Linked DNA regions of Homo sapiens: regions 1, 2 and 4 are each linked to region 3. Evidence: promoter capture Hi-C in 16 types of primary human blood cells and fetal thymus (Javierre and others, 2016). All regions are on one chromosome and are shown on one strand. The core of a region is centred on a gene start or on the middle of the fragment in contact, and the rest is flanking DNA. Distances in the headings are between cores, read along the strand shown. Region 1 has its middle 91 kb from the start of GLIS3. Region 2 has its middle 39 kb from the start of GLIS3. Region 3 holds the start of SPATA6L (spermatogenesis associated 6 like). Region 4 overlaps JAK2 (Janus kinase 2).

The links. The method cuts DNA at HindIII sites, captures the fragments that hold promoters and counts their contacts. A CHiCAGO score of 5 or more calls a contact.
Region 1: a contact is called between a fragment that was not itself captured here and the fragment with the promoter of SPATA6L in region 3, in 1 of 17 cell types (naive CD4 T cells). The highest score is 5.6, in naive CD4 T cells.
Region 2: a contact is called between a fragment that was not itself captured here and the fragment with the promoter of SPATA6L in region 3, in 1 of 17 cell types (naive CD4 T cells). The highest score is 5.1, in naive CD4 T cells.
Region 4: a contact is called between a fragment that was not itself captured here and the fragment with the promoter of SPATA6L in region 3, in 1 of 17 cell types (total B cells). The highest score is 5.0, in total B cells.

Annotation. Positions count from the first base shown.
Region 1 is chr9:4,389,338-4,392,037 of GRCh38, forward strand. It overlaps a transcript of GLIS3 not described here. Among named protein-coding and RNA genes, the nearest start is that of GLIS3, 91 kb to the left of the region's middle. The HindIII fragment of the contact is 7,468 bases long and covers 1-2,700 here.
Region 2 is chr9:4,337,677-4,340,376 of GRCh38, forward strand. It overlaps a transcript of GLIS3 not described here. Among named protein-coding and RNA genes, the nearest start is that of GLIS3, 39 kb to the left of the region's middle. RefSeq lists an enhancer at 1,713-2,007. The HindIII fragment of the contact is 1,497 bases long and covers 571-2,067 here.
Region 3 is chr9:4,665,230-4,667,929 of GRCh38, forward strand. SPATA6L (spermatogenesis associated 6 like) reads right to left here and starts at 1,251. Exons shown (of 12, transcript NM_001353486.2): 1 at 983-1,251. The coding sequence starts at 1,021. It overlaps PLPP6 (phospholipid phosphatase 6), which reads left to right. Exons shown (of 1, transcript NM_203453.5): 1 at 1-29. RefSeq lists silencers at 1,040-1,089, 1,100-1,179. The HindIII fragment of the contact is 11,868 bases long and covers 1,128-2,700 here.
Region 4 is chr9:4,988,237-4,990,936 of GRCh38, forward strand. All of the region lies in intron 2 of JAK2 (Janus kinase 2), which reads left to right. Among named protein-coding and RNA genes, the nearest start is that of JAK2, 4.3 kb to the left of the region's middle. The HindIII fragment of the contact is 718 bases long and covers 974-1,691 here.

The sequences.
Region 1 (2,700 bases), core at 199-2,698, 280 kb before region 3:
GAAGTACTGGATTTCCCTCCTATACAATGTAGGGCGTGACATGACTTACAGCCCAGAACTCGTAGGTTGTGAGGGAAGGGGATTCATTTTGCCTGGATATCGCACAGTGCATAGAGCCACGTGGGACTTCCAAAGGCTGCTGGAACTAAAAAGCCCTTGTTGGTGAAATATGGTCCTGTAGAGTCTGCATTTCCAAAGGTTCTTGGATCTTGAACTAACTAAAAATTTAGAGTTCAATAGAAGAATCTAAATCAAAATAACCAGCTAAATATACTTCTTAGTCCTGGACACTGGAAGTATGCTAACTTCTGCCCAAGACAATCACATCACGTCAAGCCAGAAAGCCATATTACAAAAACACCTGCATTTGAGGAAAGACACACAGACGGCACCGCATACAGACATACAGGTGCCCAAGTGCAGTGAATAAGCAGATGTCCAAGAGGGAGTGAACAGTTCAGATCAATTCAACAATAATTTGTTGAACATTTGCTATATTTCAGGCACTCTTCTATTGGTTTATCCTGCCAGGCAGCAGTGCTCGACATCAAGAATCTGTGGCAGATACGTAAGAAGCAACACAGTGTGATAAGTAAAATGAGTGACACATATAGAACGTTCTAAGACAGTGGAGAAGGGAATTATTCACTCATTCTTTCTTTCATTCCATCAACACTTCCTGAACAAATACTATGTGCTGCAATGGGCTAAAACCCAGACTAATAAAAAATTTCTGGCAGAGGAGAAAAGAGAGACATTTGAGGTAGAGGGAACCACGGACATGTATAGATGCCTGAAAGATCATGACATGTTTGAAGATCTCTGAAACATTCCAAATTGTGGAGAATAAAGTTGGAGGGGGAAAGCAGCAGCCGCAGCTGAAGTATGCAATCACTTCTATGTATTGAGAGCAATCATTCATAATATGCATAGGGTGCAATACTTTGCACTATGTGCAGGAAAGAGCATAAGTAGACTTTGTGGCAGTCTAAACCCAGATATTGTTTTTATATATTACGTACTTGATAAAAGTCTTTTTTTTTTTTTAAACAGGGTCTTGCTCAGCCTCCCAAGCTGTAGTGCATTGGAGCATTCATATCTCATTGTACCCGCAAACTTCTAAGCTCAAGTGATACTCTTGCCTCTGCCTCCTGGATAGCTGAGACTATGGGCACACACCATCATGCCCAGTGGTACTTGATAAACTTCATAAACTGCAAGTAGGGTTTATACGCTTATACCCATGGGAGTGCCCAGTCTCTCTGGCCTCATACAGATATCTGTGGTGACCCTCTGAAGAGGGTGAAAAGTCAAGGGAGTTAGGAAATCACCTTTCTCTCAGGCTAGAAGATCCAGAGTTGGTGGTGGCTCTTCCCCACCCAGTAGTCCACTGTGGGACAGGACAGATACTCATCCTATACAATGGGGCTACCTCTCCTTATCCTAACTTTCTACCTTCCTTGGACTCCGCTGGGACAGGGTTTAGATCACTGTCTTTCTGAAAGATTCATGTATGACCCAAAGCAGTAGAGAGCTGGAGGCAGAAACAGGAATCGTACCTTTTTAAAAAAGTTAATGCCCTTTCTTATGTCTCAGAAGGGAAACAAGTTCTCCACATTGGGGCCTTTGAGAAAGTATCTCCACAAAGGCTTGCTTCCTGCCTATTTCTCTGTCTACTCATCCTCCTGTCTTCTCCTCTGTTTGGATGTCATTCCTCTCCATCTCACTCTCCCTTTCTATCTCTGCCCACCATCGCTGCCAGGATAGAAAGCCCTAGACCCAGCCACCTCTTCAGTCTGTAATATTCTGCTGCCTCTGGCTTTACCTGGAGGTCAGTGAGGCTTCCTCTGATCCCCCTTTCATAGATGCACTCATCTCTGGTGGAAGGGACAGTGGGGACATGGGGGGTACCTCACCTCCAGAAGAGCCTGCCTCCAGGTTTCCTTCAGAAATTCCTTAGAGACCATCTAATTTTTCTGTGAGAAAAGCAATTTCTTCCAAAGATTGCTTGTCTAGTCTATATAGGGGGTGTGTTCTCTTATTGGTATAGTTTTAACTCTACTTCTTTTGGATTAATAACAGTAGACTTTTTTTCTGAGCCTGTTTTCATTAAGGTTTTTCCCAATAACTGAAAAATCACTCTGCCTGTGTCACCTGGCACCAGGTTCAAGTAGTTTCTTCCTCATTGCTAGATTTATTCCATTCTAAGAGGGGTGTGTGTGTGTGTGTGTGTGTGTGTGTTGGGCTCGGGTAGGTTGAGATGGTCAGTTTATTCTACCAGATATGTAAATATTTAACCGAAATTTGGGGGAAAATTATATTTTAAAAATCTCGATTAAGAGCAGGAAATTCAGATAGAGGTTTGTACTGTCAATAGGGATTTGGTAAAGCACTTAGTACAATGAAACACACATCCAGTACCTGGTACTGTTAATATTCTTACAAATGTACATATTTTTGGGGAGGAATGTAAATTAGTTCAACCATTGTGGAAGACAATGTGGCGATTCCTCAAAGACCTAGAACCAGAAATACCATTTGGCCTAGCAATCCCATTACTGGGTATATACCCAAAGGAATATAAATCATTCTATTATGAAGATATATGCATGCGTATGTTCATTCCAGCACTATTCACAATAGCAAAGACATGGAATCAATGCAAATGCCCATCAGTGACAGACTGGATAAAGAAAATGT
Region 2 (2,700 bases), core at 69-2,568, 330 kb before region 3:
ATCTGACTCATTCTACCATATCACAAGGCCAGACAAAAGCTGATTAATGTTCATAATAATGATCACAATAGTAGCATAATAGTAGAGGTGGTAGCAACCAGTTTTGTTTACTCAGTACCAGGCTCCACTATCCATCTTTCAGATATGTTGTATCATTTAATCCTCACAAAACTCTATGAGGCAACTATTACCCCCATTTGAAAGATGAAGAAACTGGGGTTCAAAGAGATGAAAATATTTGCCCCAAACCACACAGCTTATGTGACCAAGCAGGAGCTAGGACCCAGATCTGATTTCCCAGGATGGTTTGCTCTTTCTCTAATGTCTAACTGGTAAGATTGGCAAGGCTGTGTGTGTGTGTGTGTGTGTGTGTGTGTGTGTGTGTGTTTAGTTTTGAAATGCAAAAACTGTATTTGTCCATAGCATGACTTCTTTTCACAGGAGTCAGGACACCTGATTCTAATCCTATCGCTTCTCCTGACTAGACAAGTTTCCTTGAACAAGGCATATCCCATTGAGATTTTGCTGCTGCTATGTGTTGGCAGTGTTGGACTAGATGAGTTTCCTTTAAGCTTAGCTTGTTAAAACACAGCTTTCAGGTCTTTCTGTAGACCTACTGAATGAGACTTTCTGGTAACAAAATTATACGTATATATAGAGAGATAGATGGATTTCTATTATATATGTGTGTACACACACACACACACACACATACACACACACACACACACACAATTTTTTAAACAAGCTCCCTGGATTATTCTTATTCAGGATGAGAATTCAGCTCAGGACTGGTATTTGGGAGTCACCATACTAGACAACCTATGAGGTACTGTTCATATCTACTAGTCAATGACTGTATAGGGCCCCAAACTTGAAGTCAAGATGTGGCTACCACTGAATTTCAAATAGGTCTGGAAGAATCTAAAGGGCATGTGACTTGTTCACAGGCATTGTTCTGCATGAAGTTTGGGGACAGACCCAGGGAGAAAAAGGAACTGGGGGAAAATAGTGTAAGTACTGGAGATTGGTTCCTGTAGCCAGCCCCATGGGAGAAGGAGCTGCAAGTAGAAAGTAGAGGAACCAAAAATATAGCCTCATATTGTATCACCTAAGGAGCCTGGAAAAAGCACTGTTGCTTGGGTCCCAGCTCCAGAGATCCTTATTTAATTGGTTTGGGGTATGTGCCTGAGTCTTGGGATTTTTTTTAAAGCTCCCCAAGTGATTCCATTTTGAAGCTAAGATTGAGATTCTGCATTAACACACAAGGACACAAAGCCTTCAAAATGAGACGGCTTTATGTGTTACAGGCTTACCCTTAAAACTATGTTGAAAAGCGGCATTTCAAGGACCCTCCTGGTGAGTTCATGAAGCAAAATAATCATGTTCAAAACAATTGAGACTGTCCATACAACACTACCTCGATATGTTTGGGAGGATAAACTCAACACCTCAGTCATGATTTAGTGGCTTGGCTTATATATTTGGTGGCATAGATAGAATTCTGTCCCCAGGTGTGTAAGTCACATGAAGCCAGTCCTCAATGACTGGATTTGTCTTCTTCACTGAAGTGAATTGATCTGTTGTTTTGTCACTATGTAGCTAAAGCCAGTGGGAGGGTGCCAGTTATTTGGAGAAAATGTTTCATTTTGAAGTACCAAAGACAGCCGATGAATTGTGTTCATGAAATACATGCTTCACTCTACTTTTTAATTTGCTCCTGTTTAAGTTAACTGAGAGTTTCGTCTTTATTTTTAAAGAATGACATTTATATAGACGTTCAAACTGCCAATCTGTTACATAAACAGCCTTGTTTTTTGAAGGGCTGGCGCCGCCTAGAGGCCAAATAGGTGCAGAGGTTTGGATTGCTAACCGGAAAGAACCTCTCCAACCTGTTGCTTCTGGTCCTTCTGTGATCCGTCTCTGTTGTGTGTATTTAGGGTCAGGTAAAGCTAATCAGACTTTTCATTGAGCAAAGTTTCCCAAGCAAGGGTGGAGATGCCACAGTGACATTTCAAAGCCAGATAACAATGCAATGATGGGATTTGGGAAGTTTGGTACAAAAGAAGCTTCTCACTGGGATCAAAACGTGCCCAGAGAACCAGAAACTGTAGGGGGAGGGAAGGGGGAGGGGAGGGGAGGGGGAGGGGGGAGGGGGAGGGGAGGGGAGGGGGTAGGGGAGGGGTGGGGGAGGGGAGGGGGAGGGAAAGGAAAGGAAAGGAAAAGAAAAGAGACAGAAAGGTAAAGCAAGTTTTTGGTGGGTAGTTTCCTAGAGTGAACTTAAGAGCAAACATTCTCTCATTTGGTATTGACCAAGACACAAAGACTAGGGAGAAGTCAACATTTAATACCAGCTGACAAGCGGCTTTGCTTCTTGCTCATCAGTGAATTCACCATGTCCTCACGGCTTGGCTTAGCATGAGGTTGATATTCCCCTAGAATCTCTGGATCTATTCCCTTTTTCTACAGCCTTCTCCATACTTTTAATATTTTCTTTCTTACATGGCCAACTTTTAATTACCACAGGGGAACAGAGTTAGTATGTATTTTTTAAATCTCTGAATAATCCAAAACGTCTGTACCCAGATAGAAGTTTAGGAATTACAAATCAAATGAGAAAAAAAAAAAAAAGTATGTCATTTTCCTTTATTTGCCATGACTGATGTCATCTGACTTTTGAGCTGAATAGAAGTGAGGGGG
Region 3 (2,700 bases), core at 1-2,500:
TCAAAATAAAATTAACAAATAATGGTGAATGAAGTGAGATGAAAACTTGCTTAATTTTTGCCTTGATGAGGAGGGAGACAGATTTATCACTTAGCTTCTCAAGAGTTCCTTCTTCCTGCACAATTTTTAGAGCTTAAAACTGGTATAGCACTACTAATAAGGTCTAGCCCTATTTGCTGTCAGCAAAGTGGGACAAATCCAGGAAATGTTGATCACCTTTCACACCCACATGTATGATGAAACCACACCATTTGCCAATTGTATGGAAGACAACCAGATTCCATGACAATTTCCTGTTAGCACTGTGCTTGTAATCATAGCCAGTAGAAAAGCCCCTAGAGGAAAAGCGGCATGATATTCTGTTACTAACTACATGGAAGGATTGGAAAATGGAAACTGAAATAAGAGGGAGTGACAGACCCCCAAGTAGAAACCATGGAGTCACTCTGCCACAGCACTTCACTTAGGAAGGATTTGGTAATTACGAAATAGTGATTGATTGATTTCCCTTTTGGAATTAGCAAGCCAGAGCTATCACTAAGGGGAAATATCATAGAAAATATCTGATTGGTTCATAGAGTTGGCAAATAATCAGGAAGTGATGGAGCTTTTTAAAATTATTCCCTGGTTATTTAAAGAAGTTGAAAATCCTTTCACAAATCTTTATCCAGGAGAAGAAAATAAATTCTACCTGGACTTAATGCAGGGTTGTTTGAAAAGAAATTAAAAATTCATGATAAAGATAAGAAACATGTTAGCTTTAGAACAGAAAAAAAAAAAAGTGGGAACAGGTGGAGCTGAATTAAAGGTTAGGAAGTCAGGGAAAACCAATATGGAGAAAAAGACAAAGGTGCGATCTGTCCCAGAAGATAATGATGTGTTTGTGGTAAGTGGGGGATGTGGGGGAGGGTTGTTGAAAACCACCTGAGACTATTTAGAGTCCGACTTGAGGTTAAGGAGGGGGAGTTCATCGATCTCTTACCGCCCGGATCTGCAGCTCCACCACCACCTCCAGAGGCATCGTTCCCTGCGTGGGCGAAAGGACTGGAATGAGAAGATCCTTTTGTGCCGAGCCTTGGACCAATTTTTCTTAGTTTAGCTGAATACCTAGAGCAAATGTTCCCAGAAGCTTCCCCAGTCCCACGCCCTTGTTCCCCTACCGTCCCCCCCAGCCCAGGTCCCTCCCACCGGGACGGGTCTCTCACACTCGAAGCTGGAGTGCAGGCTTCCAGAAGGCGGAAGCGTGGCGTTGCCAGGGACACTCAAACGCGCAGTCTTCATCGTGGAACGCGCGCGAGGCCCCAGCGCAGACGCGCGCCCTCACGGTCGCTGTTGCCCACGCAGTGCCCCCAGCCGGAGAGACTGGCCCTGTCTGGCGTGCTAGACGGATAGAGAAATGCTAACAATCCCGATCTTCTTTCCATCAGCTCCTGCTATCCCCAATTACCATGTCAGAATGTTTACCGTTTTCATTCTGAAAGTAGAATGAGATCATAGGTCTGTTATAATTTAAATAGTACACGTTTAGTAGCTGCACGACCCCAAGCCTTGTAGTTTCTGTAACAATTCTCATTTAATATAGTTGCCTGTTCCTAAAAATACTCTTTTGCTTATTAAATGTTATGTTTGCTTCGGAAAACATGGCCACCGTCAATAACAAACGTGTGCTAATTAGAAATATAAGGTTAATTCTTAAACATATTTAAAAGTTAGGTATCCCCTGTTAGCAGCAATAGAAATATGTCAGTCTTTCCATAACGGTGTCCAGCCTTTTCTGGGGTTTAGTTTAAGGCAAGCATTGAGTAGTCCAATGGGTAGTTATTGCATTTGCCAAAACCACAGTTACTGTAAACACTGTCAGAGGTGGTGCGCAGAGCAAGAGTTCTGAATGAGTAGGGGACATTCACTACATCTAATAGAGAAAAATGAAGGAAAGGAGCAGGTAGTGGCTCCTTCTAGCAATCCAAAAAATCTAGGAAGGCCAATGCTGCCTCTGAAAAAAAAATTTTAAATCCTAAATTATGTTCAGTCATTTATTACTAATATTTTGCATTAGAGAGTTATACAATTGGAAATAGTGCAGAAGGATGGTCAAGACAAGATTGGGTATTCATTTTGGTAACTGGAGTTTATTTCCCTGGAAGGGAAAAACTTGGTATGATGAAGAAGGGCATATTGTATCCTTATCCAGTTCCTAGTGCTGTGTCTCTCTGCATATCAAGAGATACAGGTGGGCACCTAACTATCTATAGTGTCCAGATCATTGATTTGTCACTCACAACTTGCTGACACCCAGAGTGATGTGGGACAGGACCTGTGATGATCCTAACAGGTAGGTCACCAACACCAATGCTAAGAAATCAAGGAGAGTGACAAGCAAAACAAATTAATAAATAGCCAGAGTTGTATTGGGAGAGAAGAATCAGTCTTTACTGAGGATCTGCAAAGTGCTAGGCACATTGCGTATGCTAATTCATCTCAACCCTACAATAACTCTATCAGGGAGATATTATCCCTATTTTACAGATGCAGAATCTGAAGCTAGACAGCCTTTTACTAAAAGCCACAGACCTAATAAGGGAGCAGCCACATTTGAATCCAGGTGTGCCCTACCACATCACTGGGTCTGCAATATAGACATCCTGTTGATCTCTAGAGACACAATGTTCCATTCTATGCTCTTCTTAGTCTTAACTCTTG
Region 4 (2,700 bases), core at 83-2,582, 320 kb after region 3:
GCTTGAACTTGTGTTTTGAGTTGGTTCATGGTTTCAATATTAGATACCTACACCCGTTTCTACAATGTCATGTCTTTGTAAAGATGTATTTTCAGAGGTTGCTCCGATAAAAAGCAACTACTACATGAAAATGAATGTAGAACAGGAAATGACAGTGTGGTATTGTCCAATTTGATTCTAAGGTTTGATAAGTTCTACAGTGCTCTACACTAAGTTGTAAGGACATAACTACTAAGTAAGTTGTTCAAACCTATTTCTTTTGGCCTGGGGGTGTCGTGAAAAATTTGCTAAGACTCAGAGCTCCCTGAATGGGTTTGGAAACCTCTGCCTTAGCTTTTAGTTTGCTTTTCTGATAAAATTATTGATATAAAGCTAGTACCAGCTGATCATGGCTTAATATATTTCCTCTCCTATGTAATATGTTTATAACTTCTGCCCAGTTCTTTCATTTTAAAACTAATCCTATTGCTAACTTGTTGTACTAGTCACTTCCTGGTTTTTCCTGTACTGGTCTTCTGCTTCTACTTCTGTTCATCTCCTTAAACTCCGAATGCCCCAAGTGAAAGTTACCATTTTCTACCCCTTAATTTTCTTCTAATCATGTAGGCTTTAAATTAGGCATCATCTTTAAACTACTTCTTTCATTTACCTCTTATTCCCATTCAAAATGTCCATATTTCCTTTCTTTCTCATATCTCTGCTTTCCCTCCTTTACTGTGTGAATCCCAGGACACATTTCCTGAGCCTAGAATATTGAAAGTCATTTGAACTTCTGAGAATTCAGTGTCCCTTCCTTCTGTTTATCCTCAATAGAGATTCCACTCTAATACTCCTTATTATAGCATTCCCTTGCCCCAAAACCTTCAGTGGCTTACCATTTTCTACTTATTAAATTTTCCTGACTTTTAAGATAGTCTATTATCAATCCCTGCCCTATTTATTTAGTCTTTTGTCTAAGGATCTCTAGTCCTTAAGCTTGTAAGCTGATTTCCACACTTTCTAATAATAAGCTATGCTTCTTCTATCCTTTAATTTTTGCCCATGTTCTCCATCCCTCTTTTTTTTCCTCTATTTCTGTAGCTCTTTAGTCTTAGAACATTTTCACATGGTTTAATTATATGCCATGCTTTAGTTGTTTGATAGTTATTTCCCTAGTGTTAGCCATATCTTTTCAAGTTGATTGTGTATTCTTTGAGGAGCAGTACCTTAGATTAAAAAAAAACCACAACACACAGTGGAGAGCACATGGGCAGCATTCAAGAAATACATGTTGATTGTGTGATAAGGAACTGTAGTCACCAAACAAATATTTGTTAATACTTGCAATGTAAAAGGTACTTGGCTGTATTCAAAAGAGAAATAAAGAAATATAAAATAGGCTCCTTTCCCTAAGGACTTACAGTATAATTGGGCAGATAAGCTAAATAATAAAAGTTACAGATATTTAAGACCACTTGAGTTGAGCAGAGATTTTGCATAATAGGAAGGAACTGGTAGAGGGGGTAAGCAAAGGCAAAATATGTATATATGTATGATATGTTCAGAGAGCAGTACATAAATAACTTGACTGAAATGAAGATTTGTGTGAAAGAGTAGTAAGAAATTGTGTTAAAAATGTAGTTGGAATTTGATTATGGATGTCTTTAAATGCTAGGATGAGAAGAATGTACTTTGACCTGTAGATATGGAGAAGCTTTAAAAGTTTTGAATTGAGAAAGAGTTTGCTGAAATAAGTATTTTAGGAAAATCAAAGCAGCACCAGTGCTAGGTCTCATATGAATTGGAAAGAGAATGGTAGAAAGAGGTAGGAAAATAATTGAGCCCTGAAGTAATGAGGACTTAGAAATAAGTCAGATTGCAGAGATGTCACAAGACATTATTATGGATTGGATAAGAAGGGAGAATGGAGGGGAGAAGAGTGATTAAAGATTACCTTACCTTGAAGGTTTGCTTTTCAGTGACGGAGGAAATCAAAGAGTGTTGACTCTCCAAGACATCTTAGAACATCTAAGTCTATATGTTTTGTATATTAGGACTCAGACCAGAGAGATTTAAAAATGTGTCCAAAGTTACTCAGCTAGTTAATGACAAAGAAACTGCCGTTTGATTAATGGCAGTTACTAACAAAAATAGTTATGGCAGTGTTAGTAGCTGGTAGAGGGGATGTAGACAGTTGAGCGTATATTGTGGATATGTTGAGTTTGCGGTGGCCGTGGGATGGGCAAGTGAAAATTGATAGCATACAGTGGGACATATGACTAGAATTTGTTAGCGAAGTTAAGGCTGGTGCTGTGGTACTTAAGAGAAAAGAGTGGGATTGCCCATAATTAGCGGGTGGGTGAAAGGAGAGGAATGGGTAAAGGAGACAAAGAAAAAAACAGTATGAGAGGCAAATTAGTGGATAGGTTAGGAGGCGGAATGATCAACATGTTGATCATTGGCAAGAAATGAGAAGAATCAGATCCAAAAAAAGGTCTTAAAAAGATGTATTCGTGTTTTTCCTAATAAGAAATCTATAAAAACAGAAGAAAATTGCTTATACTTTCCCTACGTGGAAATAACCACTGTTAATATTTTGTTCTCTCCGGTTTAACAAAAGACCTTTGGATTTGACAGTTGGGTGATCAGTGGAGACTTTTCCAAAGCTCTCCATCACTAGGACTAAGGATGAGAATTTTAGGCATAATAAAACCTAGGAGA